2 separate regions of the Homo sapiens genome follow, and region 1 is linked to region 2. The links are contacts of gene promoters, found by promoter capture Hi-C in human tissues and cell types (Jung and others, 2019). All regions are on one chromosome and are shown on one strand. The core of a region is centred on a gene start or on the middle of the fragment in contact, and the rest is flanking DNA. Distances in the headings are between cores, read along the strand shown.

Region 1 (5,447 bases), core at 1,354-3,853, 1.5 Mb after region 2:
CAACTACACTTAGTAATAATTAATTTTTCTATTTATGTTAGTAAGTAACTGATAAGCTTCTGGTCAGGGAGAGATTCACACCTTCTAATTGAAAATAAACCAGAGCTCCCTCCTCTTTACCACCAAGATTTTGTTTCATGATTTTTCTTCCATGGACTCCAAGTTCTGAAAGTGTTGCCTGCTGAATTGAATATATTTATTTAGTGATTGCTAAGTATTTGTTTTATTTTCATAAGTAATACATAAAATTATATATATACCTAGCAAATGCATATTATATATAGTAAATCTTCTTATCTGCATTTAGTTGACATAAATATTAATAATTTAAACAGAGCCTTTGTGATTCAGAAAAGAGAGGGAAAATTGTTAGCAAATGTGTATATGATTTTGCAGTCCAATTTTAAAGAAAAATTAAGCCAAATGCACGCAGACATTATCATTACCTTTCTGCTCCTATTACAGTAAATGAAGGTGTGGGGTGTATCTGAAACACAATGGAGTTTGGGGATTGACTTTCTGTATAATTTTCATAAGGTAAACGTATCCTACATGATCCTTATGATGGGCAAGGTCATTACCTTGCCCTTTCTTGAACCCCAAGCTCACTGGCCACCCTACCGCATTTCCTTGGCACTCTGTGCTTAGGGTTAGCATTGCACTCAGGACTCTATTTTGAAATTTCCTATTTTCTTGTCTCTTTCTCTTACTGGGCAGTGACTTCCCCAGGAGCAGGGATTATGTTTTATTTACTGTCACAGCAGCTAAAACATACTAAGACTTCAACAATATGTTGCTGAATAAATAGCTCAATGATTGAATGTTTTCACTTACTTGATATACTCTGTGGCCTGTGAGTTTCTACAAATGACAAAAACACATTAAGCTACTTTAAGCTATGCATATACATATATAAAGCTTGGAAAAAAGTGAAAAATGATTATTTTACACATTGCTGCAATTATGTTTTTAGCTGTTCACTTAATATTTTTTATAGGGATCTGGAGTTCTTATTGAAACTGGAATTCTTTCTGTATCTGATACTAATATTGTCCCACAACCTAGACATGCAAGAAATGTAACGTTTTAAAATTTTATATAACTTGATTTCTATTTCAAGCTTCCATTCAGTTGTGGTGGCTGGAAATTTAATCTTTCATTACGAAGTTCCCTTAATGGTTTCTGAGTTCCAGGGAAAGAGAGTGGGAACTAGGGATAAAAGGTGATACATCATTATATAAAGGTAAATTCTTTCCTGAACCAATAGTGGCAGTGTTCATGAACTAAGTACAATTGTCTCTGCCTTTCATGTTCACAAGCAAAAAGAATCTGCTAACATATTTCTTACAGATTAAAGAAAAATGTGATTACCTCAGTAAATATAGAAAAGCACTTGATAATATTCAACACCAATTTATGGCCAAAACTCATAAATAAATAAAGAAAAGAAGCATTCTTTCTTAACCTAATAAAAAGTCAATATAAATATTATAACACAAATTATATGTTATGGTAAAATGGAAGCAATCCATTTAAGTGCTACCTTATATTCCCACTCCAATCAACACTCTACTTTTCACAACAGAGACACAGAAAACCTTTGAACTCAATTCCTGATGTAATTCAGGACATTGCACAATTAAATTATGTATCTGACTTCTATGAGGTCAGCCCTATGGCAATAAGAAATACATAAGTAGCTGAAGACTTGCATAAAAGCTCTCTGGGGCCAGGCATGGTGGCTCACACCTATAATCACAGCATTTTGGGAGGCCAAGGCAGGTGGATCATTTGAGGTCAAGAGTTTGAGACCAGCCTTGACAACATGGGGAAACCTTGTCTCTACTAAAAATACAAAAATTTGCCAGGACGTGGTGGCACATGCCTGTAATCCCAGCTACTCAGGAGGCTGAGGCACAAGAATCACTTCAGCCTGGGAAGCAGAAGCTGCAGTGAGCTGAGATCGTGCCACTAGACTCCAGCCTGGGTGACAAAGTGAGACTCTTAAAAAGAAAAAAAGAAAAAGCTCTCTGGTTCCCAGACTTCACCTTGAGCTGAGCATATAAACTGCTTGTCATTTCTTTAGTGTAATTTATTCAATGTAGTTAGGAGTAGCCACCCCTCCTCCACAGTCCCTGTAGTACTGACAAAGTCAATTACAGGAGTCACCTCATGATTCAAGCACTTGCTTCACTAAGAAAATTGTCACGGTCAATAACATGTGACAATTTGGTTAGTTATAATGCCTTTGTATGCCATGGATTGCCAGAATCTGATTTACCGTGGATAAGGAATTCAGCATGATGTTCATGACCAAGGACGTTTCAAGTAATCTCAGAATCTCACCTTTGAGAGTCTGCTTTTTGCTATCACTTCTGTTACCAAATACTTTACCAATCAGGGTCAAGTCAAGACAACAGAAGCCACATCAGTTATTTATCCAAAGATTTTTTATCACAAAAAAAAATTTAAATATAAAAGTAAAATGTATGGCAAAAAAAGAGTGGGAAAATAAATATACTGTTGTAAGGTTTATATTCATCATGAAGTGATATCATATGAAGGCCATCTGATGTGAGTTAAAGATGCATATTGTAGGCCCTAGAGTAATCACTATAGAATAAAACTGCAAGATACAGATAATAAGACAATAAATGAAATAAAATAAAAAACTAAAAACACTGAATTATCCCAAAGAAGGCAGAAAAATAATAAAAGGAAGCAAAAAATAAATGGGAAAAAAATTTTAAATAAAAGCAAAATGAGCCACGCACAGTGGCTCACTCCTGTAATCCCAACACTTTGAGAGGCTGAGGCGAGTGGATCACTGAAGCTCCGGAGTTTGAGACCACCCCTGGCCAACATAATAAAACCCAGTCTCTACCGAAAATACAAAATGTAGCTGGGCATGGTGGCGTGTACCTGTAATCCCAGCTACTTTGGAGGCTGAGGCAGGAGAATCGCTTGAACCTGGGAGGCAGAGGTAGCAGTGAGCTGAGATTGTACCACTGCACTCCAGCCTGAGTGAAAAAGTGAGACTCCATCTCAAAAAAAAAAAAGAAAAAAGAAAAAAAATCAAAATGGTAGCTGTAAGCACAACTGTATTCAAAACTACATTAAAGATTTCTCAATGTCGGAATAGGAGCTTACAAGCAACCAAGGTGGGAAGGTAAATATGAAGCACGTGATAATGGATTAGTGTTGGAGACATCAGTATGAAAGCATGTTTAGTGGCCAAGTGTGGTGGCTCACACCTGTAATCCCAGCACTTTGGGAGGCCAAGATAGAAAGACTGCTTGGGCCCAGGAGTTCAAGACCAGCCTGGACAACATGTTACTGGGGAGGGTGGAAGGGGAGTGAGGAGTAAAAGGCTACACATTGGGTACAGTGTACACTGCTCAAGTGATGACTGCACCAAAGTCTCATGTGGCCCAGGCACTGTTGTTCACACTTGTAATCCCAGCACTTTGGGAGGCCGAGGCAGGTGGATCACCTGAGGTCAGGAGTTCCAGACTACCCTGGCCAACCTTGTGAAACCCCATCTCTACCAAACATACAGAAATGAGCCGGGTGTGGTGGCACCCGCCTGTAATTCCAGCTACTGGGAGGCTGAAGCACGAGAATCACTTGAATCCAGGAGGAGGAGTTTGCAGTGAGCCAAGATCGTGCCACTGTACTACAGCCTGTGCGACAGAGGAAGACCCTGTCTCAAAAAAATTAAAAAAAAAAAAATGTATCCATGTAACCAAACGCCACCTGTTCCCCTCAAATCCTATTGAAATAAAATAAATAAATAAGAAAAACTTGTTTTACAAAGTGCATTTTATGGAGGTAGAGAGTAGAACGGTGGTTACCAGAGTCTGGAAGGGGAATGCGGGTGAGAGAACTAACTTGGTGAAGCGGTGCAAAAACACCGTTCTGTAGAGGAAATGAGTTCCAGTATTCAATAGGAAAGTATATTTATAATATAAATATTATAGTTACAAATAATTTATTTTATATTTCACAATAGCTAGAAGAGAAGATGTGTAATATTCCCAGCACAAAGAAAAGACAAATGTTTGAAGAGAGGGATATCCCAACTACCCTAATTTTGATTATTACACATTGTATGCAGGTATCAAAATATCTCATGTACCCCCAAAATATGTATAACAATTATATAGCAATAAGATTTTCTTAATTTTTAAAAATTAGTAAAATAGAAAATGTTGGGTAAAATTTACTGGGGAAGTCATCAGGTCCTGGACTCTTCCTTGCTGGAAGGTTTTTGATTACTGATTTAATCTGTTATTAGCCATTTCATATTTTCTATTTATTCATGATTCAGTCTTGACAGTTTGTGTGTTTCTAGGAATTTGTCCATTTCTTCTAGGTTATCCAAATTTTTAGCATATAAAAAGTTTATGGTATTCTCTTATAGTCCTTTGTATTTTTGTGGCATCAGTTATAATGTCTCCTCTTTGGTTTCTAATTTTATTTAATAAAGTATTCTATCTTTTTTTCTTAATCTAAAGTTTTGTCAATTTTATCTTTTTAAAAAAACCAATTCTTAGTTGTTTTTCTTGATATTAAAAACTGGTTTCTTGGCTGGGCACGGTGGCTCATGCCTATAATCCCAGCAGTTTGGGAGGCCGAGGTGGGCGGATCTTCTGAGGTCAGGAGTTTGAGACCAGCCTTGTCCAGGCTGGTGAAGCCTGGACATGGTGAAACCCCATCTCTACTAAAAATACAAAAATTAGCCGGGCATCATGGTGGATACCTGTAATCTCAACTACTTGGGAGGCTGAGGCATGAGAATCTCTTGAACCCAGGAGGCAGAGGTTGCAGTGAGCTGAGACCATGCCAGCCTGGGCAACAGAGAGACTCTGTCACAAAAAAAAAAAGAAAAATGAAAGTACCTATAGACCAAAATACCTCATGAACAGAGACAAATGCCAAAAAATAAAAACAAGAACAAAAAATTAACAGAAAATAAAGTCAGAAATACAGAAAATAAATGTCATAAATTAAGACATACGTAGATTATATTCACGAATTGAAAGCCTCAGTATTGTTAAGATTTCAATTCTGCCCAAATTAATCTATACAATCAATGTAACCCAAATCCAAATTTTAGCAGGACTTCTTGGTTGTTAAACTGATTGTAATTTTTTTTTTCACAGGGTCTCTCTCTGTCACCCAGGCTGGAGTGCTGTGGTGCAATCTCAGCTCACTGAAGCCTCAACCTCCCAGGCTCAAGTGGTCCTCCAGCTTAGGCCTCCCAATTAGCTGGGACTATATACAGGCGCATGACATCATGCCCAGCTTTTATATATATATATATATAAATATTGTAGAGACAGGGTTTCACCATATTTGCCAAGCTGGTCTCAAACTCCTGGGCTCAAGTGATCCACCTGCCTTAGCCTCCCAAAGTGCTGGGATTGCAGGCATGAACCAGGACT
Region 2 (5,495 bases), core at 1,221-3,720:
TGGTTGGCCCCTCATCCTCCACTCTGAGGCATCCGTCGTCCTAATCTACAGATTTGGAACTCCCACGTAGCTTCTGCATACCCTCTGGGACAAAGTTTTTCATAATTTATTATTTTCTTTTCTTTGTTGTCTGAGAGCTTTAAACCTCCATGGAGAAATGGTCCCATGGGTCACCCCTGGGAGAGTTACAGGCACATACGTGGAGTATGAGGCATCTTATAGCCAGCTACAATTCTTGTTACTTCTCTTTCCAGTTCAGCCAGTGGCAGATCTGTGCCCTCTACCTTTGGTTCAGAGAAACTGTGCTCCTTGAATTTGGGGTCTCTGTTCTTCAGTGGGATTCAATAACCTGTCCTGGCCACCAGTTCCAAGGTTCTGGGCATGCTTGGCCTTGGTGTTTCACCCAGAGAAGACACTAGGAAACTAGAGAAGCAGTGGGAGGCAGGTACGTGGCTCCTCTAGAGGCCTATATCCAAAGAGCATGCAAGGCGTGGTGTATGGAAGGAATGTTATCAATCAAATGGATACCAAATCTAGAGGTATGATTCCTGACTTTGGTATAGCCCAATCTTTTCTTCAGAGTTTTCCCAGTTTGTAATCTCATTTTTTGTTGTTCAAAACCTCTTTTTTTTTTTTAAAAAAAATTATTTATTTTATTTATTTTTGAGTCAGAGTCTCATTCTGTCACCCAGGCTGGAGTGCAGTGGTGTGATATCGGCTCACTGCAACCTCCACCTCCTGGGTTCAAGCAATTCTGCCTCAGCCTCCTGAGTAGCTGGGATTACCATGTGTATGCCATCATGCCTGGCTAGTTTTGGTATTTTTAGTAGAGACAGGGTTTCACCATGTTGGCCAGGCTGGTCTCGAACTCCTGACCTCAAGTGATCCACCCACCTCGGCCTCCCAAAGTGCTGGGGTTACAGGTATGAGCCACCACACCCGGCCCAAAAGCTCTTTTACAGAGTCATTGTGGTTTTAAATATCAATTCAGTTTTCAAGTGAGAAAATGGAGGCACACAGAATTCAACTGATTTGCTTAAGCTCTTATAGAGTAGGGGTGCCGAGGGACTTTGTGGGGTTTTAGTTCTCCTTCATCTCCATCTGCCTCCTCAAGCCACCTCAAACCTACAATCTAAACAAAATCAATTTGCTTTTGTTATTCCAGGGCAGCTTCATGACCATTCCCAGAGTCCCACCAGATGGCCATTCCCATGCTGTCCCTTTATTGAAATTCTGTGGTCATCGCATAGTCCATAAGCAATAGAAGCAAAAGAGTAAGCAGGTTTTACCAGAGTGTACCTTTAAAGTTTCAAAGAACCCGCACATCCACTATCTCATCAATTCACAGAATGTTCTGAGAGACAACAAGAATAGATATTATTGCTGCCTAGAGATTAAGAGCTAGAAGCTCAGAAAGCTTGATTCTCACCTTGGTTCCTGTCTGCTATAGTGGACTCTCTGGCTTGGTTTGGGTCTGGGGTCTCTGTCACATATATGGCTGGAGAAGCCTCCCACTTATTTTCTTATACCTCAGTTTCCCATTTGTTCCCATCATAGGCAGACTATATGTCAGTAGCTTTGAGGAACAGATTGTATCTGCTCAGTATTGAAGTCCTGGAATAATGAGAGAAGCGCCCAGTTAATTGATCAGATTTTATTTTAGGAATATCACCCTCCCTGGGGAGGTGGTATGATGGAAAGATGGTGGGCTCTGGAGTCAGACTGGGCTGGATTCTCATCTGGACTCTGTCACTTACTAGCTGGTTGAAGCAGGGATTTTGAGAGCCCCACATACTAGGTCCTTTCCTCTTCCCAGCTACCTGGCAACTAAGCAAACCTAGGGCTTGGTGGAACAGAGTTTGAAAACAGCTGATAGAGTACAGCTTTCCGGGAAATTTAGAATTAAATTCTGTAGCTAAGAAAAAGAAATTATATGTAGAAATCAATTCAATTTGCCTCCCACCCAAGGCCATGAGAGCAGGCTGCTCCAGATATACAAGACATCATTCCTGCAGGCATTGTCAGTCTTGTAGTCCGTTGACAGTAATTGCATGGACAACACCCAAATTGATTGACTTTTCTGTAAGTATTGTTGAACTTCCTTTTCCTTAAATTTCCTTAAAAACAGGTAGCTAGAAATGGAAAGGAAACTAAGTACGCTGCCAACGTACAATCAGGAGCATGCAGCCACCCTTTTATTACATCAGTATATATTTATTGCATGTAGACTACATGTCAGTGACTTTGGCATTAGCAACACAGTAATGAACAAACAAACAAAGGCACTATCTTCAAGGAGCTTCCTTTTGTGTGTGTGTGTGTGTGTGTGTGCGTGATGTTATAGACAAACAAATAAATATCTACCAGATGGCAATGAAGCTGTGACCCAAAAAATCAAACTGAGAAGAGGGTCAGAGAGTGAAAGGAACTGCGTTTTCAGATAGGTGGTCAGAAAGGGCCTCTCTGTTAAGGTGGCCCTTGTGCAGGGAATTGAAGAAGTGCAGGAGGATGCCACACAGAGATGGTAGAGGGAGCGAAAGGAGCAAAGGCCCTAACTTTCCCTTAATGATGTCTCCTTCCATCTTTAGTCCAGCCCAGCAATGTACATGTTATCCTTCCCGTTTGAAGATGAAGACACTGAGGCTCAGAAAGATCAAACGCCTTTCCCAAACTCACAGCTACGGCCTGACGGAGGTAGGGTCAAATGCAGCTCCACTGATTTCAGAGACGGTGCTGTTAACACAGGGGGCTGTCTGCATGTTGGAAAGTGAGATGTGCTGTTGCTGTCACGTTGCAGTGGGAGTGGGGAAGCAGGCTGTGATGAGCTAGACCCAAGAGGAATCAGAGAGCAGGTCTCCGGGCTTCATCCTGGGCATCTCCTAGCCCCGCTGTCTGTCTCATAACACCCACCCACTGCGCCTGCTCACCTCGGTTTGTTGGCTGTTTTTTTTTGAAATCATTTCCTGGATCTTAGTAAGTTTATTTTCCAGTTCCTTTCACTTTTTGGGACTAGGCCCCCAGATGCCAGGTGGAGAGAACTGAAAGAGGGAGAAATCCAGCGTTTCTCACCAGGCTTGTCACGTAGCTACACAAGCAAATAGCTACAGGAACCAAGTTTCAATTTTCGTGCATGGGCCTCAAACTGTTTTTCCATATTTGTTAGGGAAAATCTTGGCCAGGGAGCACCGTCTTTTGAGGACACCAAATTGGGCCAAGTTCCTGTGCGGCCTTTCTCCTTATTTAGTGATTGCCCCGTGTGACCCTCTCCTCTCTGGCTGACCTCTTTTTTCCTGCATGGCACTTGGTGGATAAAGTTCCCTGAACCTTGGAGAGGAAGCGGATGCTGTTAATAGCCCTGGGAGTGTGACTGTGCTTTGCAGCTCACTGGAGCCTGTGGGATATTCCTCCAGCCTTGGCGGGGCTCCGAGCTGCAGGGAAATTAACCTCAGAGTCAGGGCAGGGAGCCAGGGTTGCAGGCACGTTGTCATTGGGTGAAATGAGATGGCAGAGGAAAATGGCACGGTGTGGAGGCTTTTTTTGTCAGAAGCTCTGGGGTTTGGCTCTTCTCTGTGCCATGTAGTTCTTTGATCTTGCCCAAGTTTACTTACTGTCTCTCTGAGCCTTCAGTGATTTCAATTGCGTGAAAACCAAGACAAATAACACCTCTATATCAAGAATAGTTCATAGGATCATAGTACAATATTGTGGGGATTAAGCCAGATGGTATCAGCCCATCAGAATCTAGCCCATGGGAGGGGCTCCGTAAATGACCCTTTCTTTTTGAGACGGAGTCTTGCCCTGTCGCCAGGCTGGAGTGCAGTGGCGCGATCTCAGCTCACTGCAACCTCCGCCTCCCGGGTTCAAGAGATTCTCCTGCCTCAGCCTCCTGAGTAGCTGGGGTGCCCGCCGTGCTACTATAGGGTGTGTCCTACAGGCGCACGCCACCATGACCAGCTACTTTTTGTATTTTTGGTAGAGACGGGGTTTCACCGTGTTGGCCAGGATGGTCTTGATTTCTTGACCTTGTGATCCGCCCGCTCAGCCTCCCAAGGTGTTGGGATTGCAGGCGTGAGCCACTGCGCCCGGCCTCCTTTCTCCCTTTTTGGAGAGAAGCTCATCTTCCTACCAACACATGACCCGAAGACGTGTTGGGGCAGGGGGGAAGAGGAGTAGAATTTGGATGCTCTGGAACTCTCGCTCAGAAAGAGTTTCTCATTAGACTTGTCTCTGATGACTTCAATGATTCCATCAGATATTCATTCCGTTGGGTTAGGCATTGCCTCCCATCTAGGTTGCTTTCATTTGATTTCAGTTAGAAGGTGGTGGAGCTGAGATTTGAAGGCATCAGGTGGTCTAATGCCTGAATGTAGCCTTAACCACTGTGCTCTCCTGACTCTCTCCGTGGACCTCACAACCTCTTCTAACAATTCCTCTGGGCATATTACCTACTTCCACCTGTCTCTCCCCTGGCTTGCTGGGGTGCCTCCCCCTCCCTCTACTGCACTTGGTTTTGTCAGTTAAGGATTGCCTTCTTTCCACCGTCCCCCACCCTCAGTGTGATTTAATTGGGAAATTGTTTCTTGATCTTACCTGTCCTGTCTTCCTTGTATGCCAACTTCACTGCCCCCTACTTTGTTCTACCAGACACATTGCAATTAGCTCATCACATCTCTGTTCTAACCCTTGAGTACTTCTCTATCTTTCCTAAAAGACACAGTTCTTAAAAGGCAGGACTTGCAACTCATTTTGGGTTAGAGGCCTGATGCCTGGTACCATGCCTAGAACTCAGGGTCTCCTTGATGAATGCTTGAATGAGGAACTGGCAGGCATAGAACTGTGAGTAAACCACTTCACTGAGTTAACAAATTAATAGGTTCAAAAATTTCCAGGAGTTAGATAGTTGTGAAATTCTGTCTCTCAACCTTTTTATTTTTTCCCAACTTTTATATTCAATGGTACATGTGCAGGCTTGTTAAAAATATGGAACATGGCTGGGCATGGTGGCTCATGCCTGTAATCCCAGCACTGTGGGAGGTCGAGGTGAGTGGATCATTTGAGGTCAGGAGTTCGAGACCAGCCTGGCCAATATGGTGAAACCGTGTCTCTATTAAAAATACAAAAATTAGCTGGATATGGTGATGCGTGCCTGAAATCCCAGCTACTTGGGAGGCTGAGGGAGGAGAATCACTTGAACCTAGGAGGCGGAGGTTGCAGTGAGCCGAGATTGCACCACTGCACTCCAGCCTGGGCAACAAAGCAAGACTCTGTAACCAAAAAAAAAAAAAAAAAAAAAAAAAAGATATGGAATGCTTCACAAATTTGTGTGTCATTCTTGTTCAGGGGCCATGCTAATCTTCTCCGTGTCATTCCAATTTTAGTATATATGATGCCGAAGTGAGTACTATCTTAATCTTTTTAATGAATCAGTGTGAATTAATATACACTAGAGAAAGAAGTAATGAGACATTTAAAAATTATTTTATTCTTTTAACTCT

What was found. The method cuts DNA at HindIII sites, captures the fragments that hold promoters and counts their contacts. A contact is called where the count stands out against the background at its distance.
Region 1: a contact is called between a fragment that was not itself captured here and the fragment with the promoter of OR9Q1 in region 2, in 1 of the 25 tissues and cell types used here (stomach).

What each region holds. Positions count from the first base shown.
Region 1 is chr11:59,478,461-59,483,907 of GRCh38, forward strand. It overlaps OR4D10 (olfactory receptor family 4 subfamily D member 10), which reads left to right. Exons shown (of 3, transcript NM_001004705.2): 3 at 1-901. Among named protein-coding and RNA genes, the nearest start is that of OR4D10, 7.9 kb to the left of the region's middle. The HindIII fragment of the contact is 4,232 bases long and covers 488-4,719 here.
Region 2 is chr11:58,021,411-58,026,905 of GRCh38, forward strand. It overlaps OR9Q1 (olfactory receptor family 9 subfamily Q member 1), which reads left to right and starts at 2,471. Exons shown (of 3, transcript NM_001005212.4): 1 at 2,471-2,694. It overlaps LOC107984331 (a long non-coding RNA gene), which reads right to left and starts at 3,009. Exons shown (of 3, transcript XR_001748218.1): 1 at 2,677-3,009; 2 at 1,430-1,614. It also overlaps the pseudogene RNU6-899P. The HindIII fragment of the contact is 7,062 bases long and covers 1-5,495 here.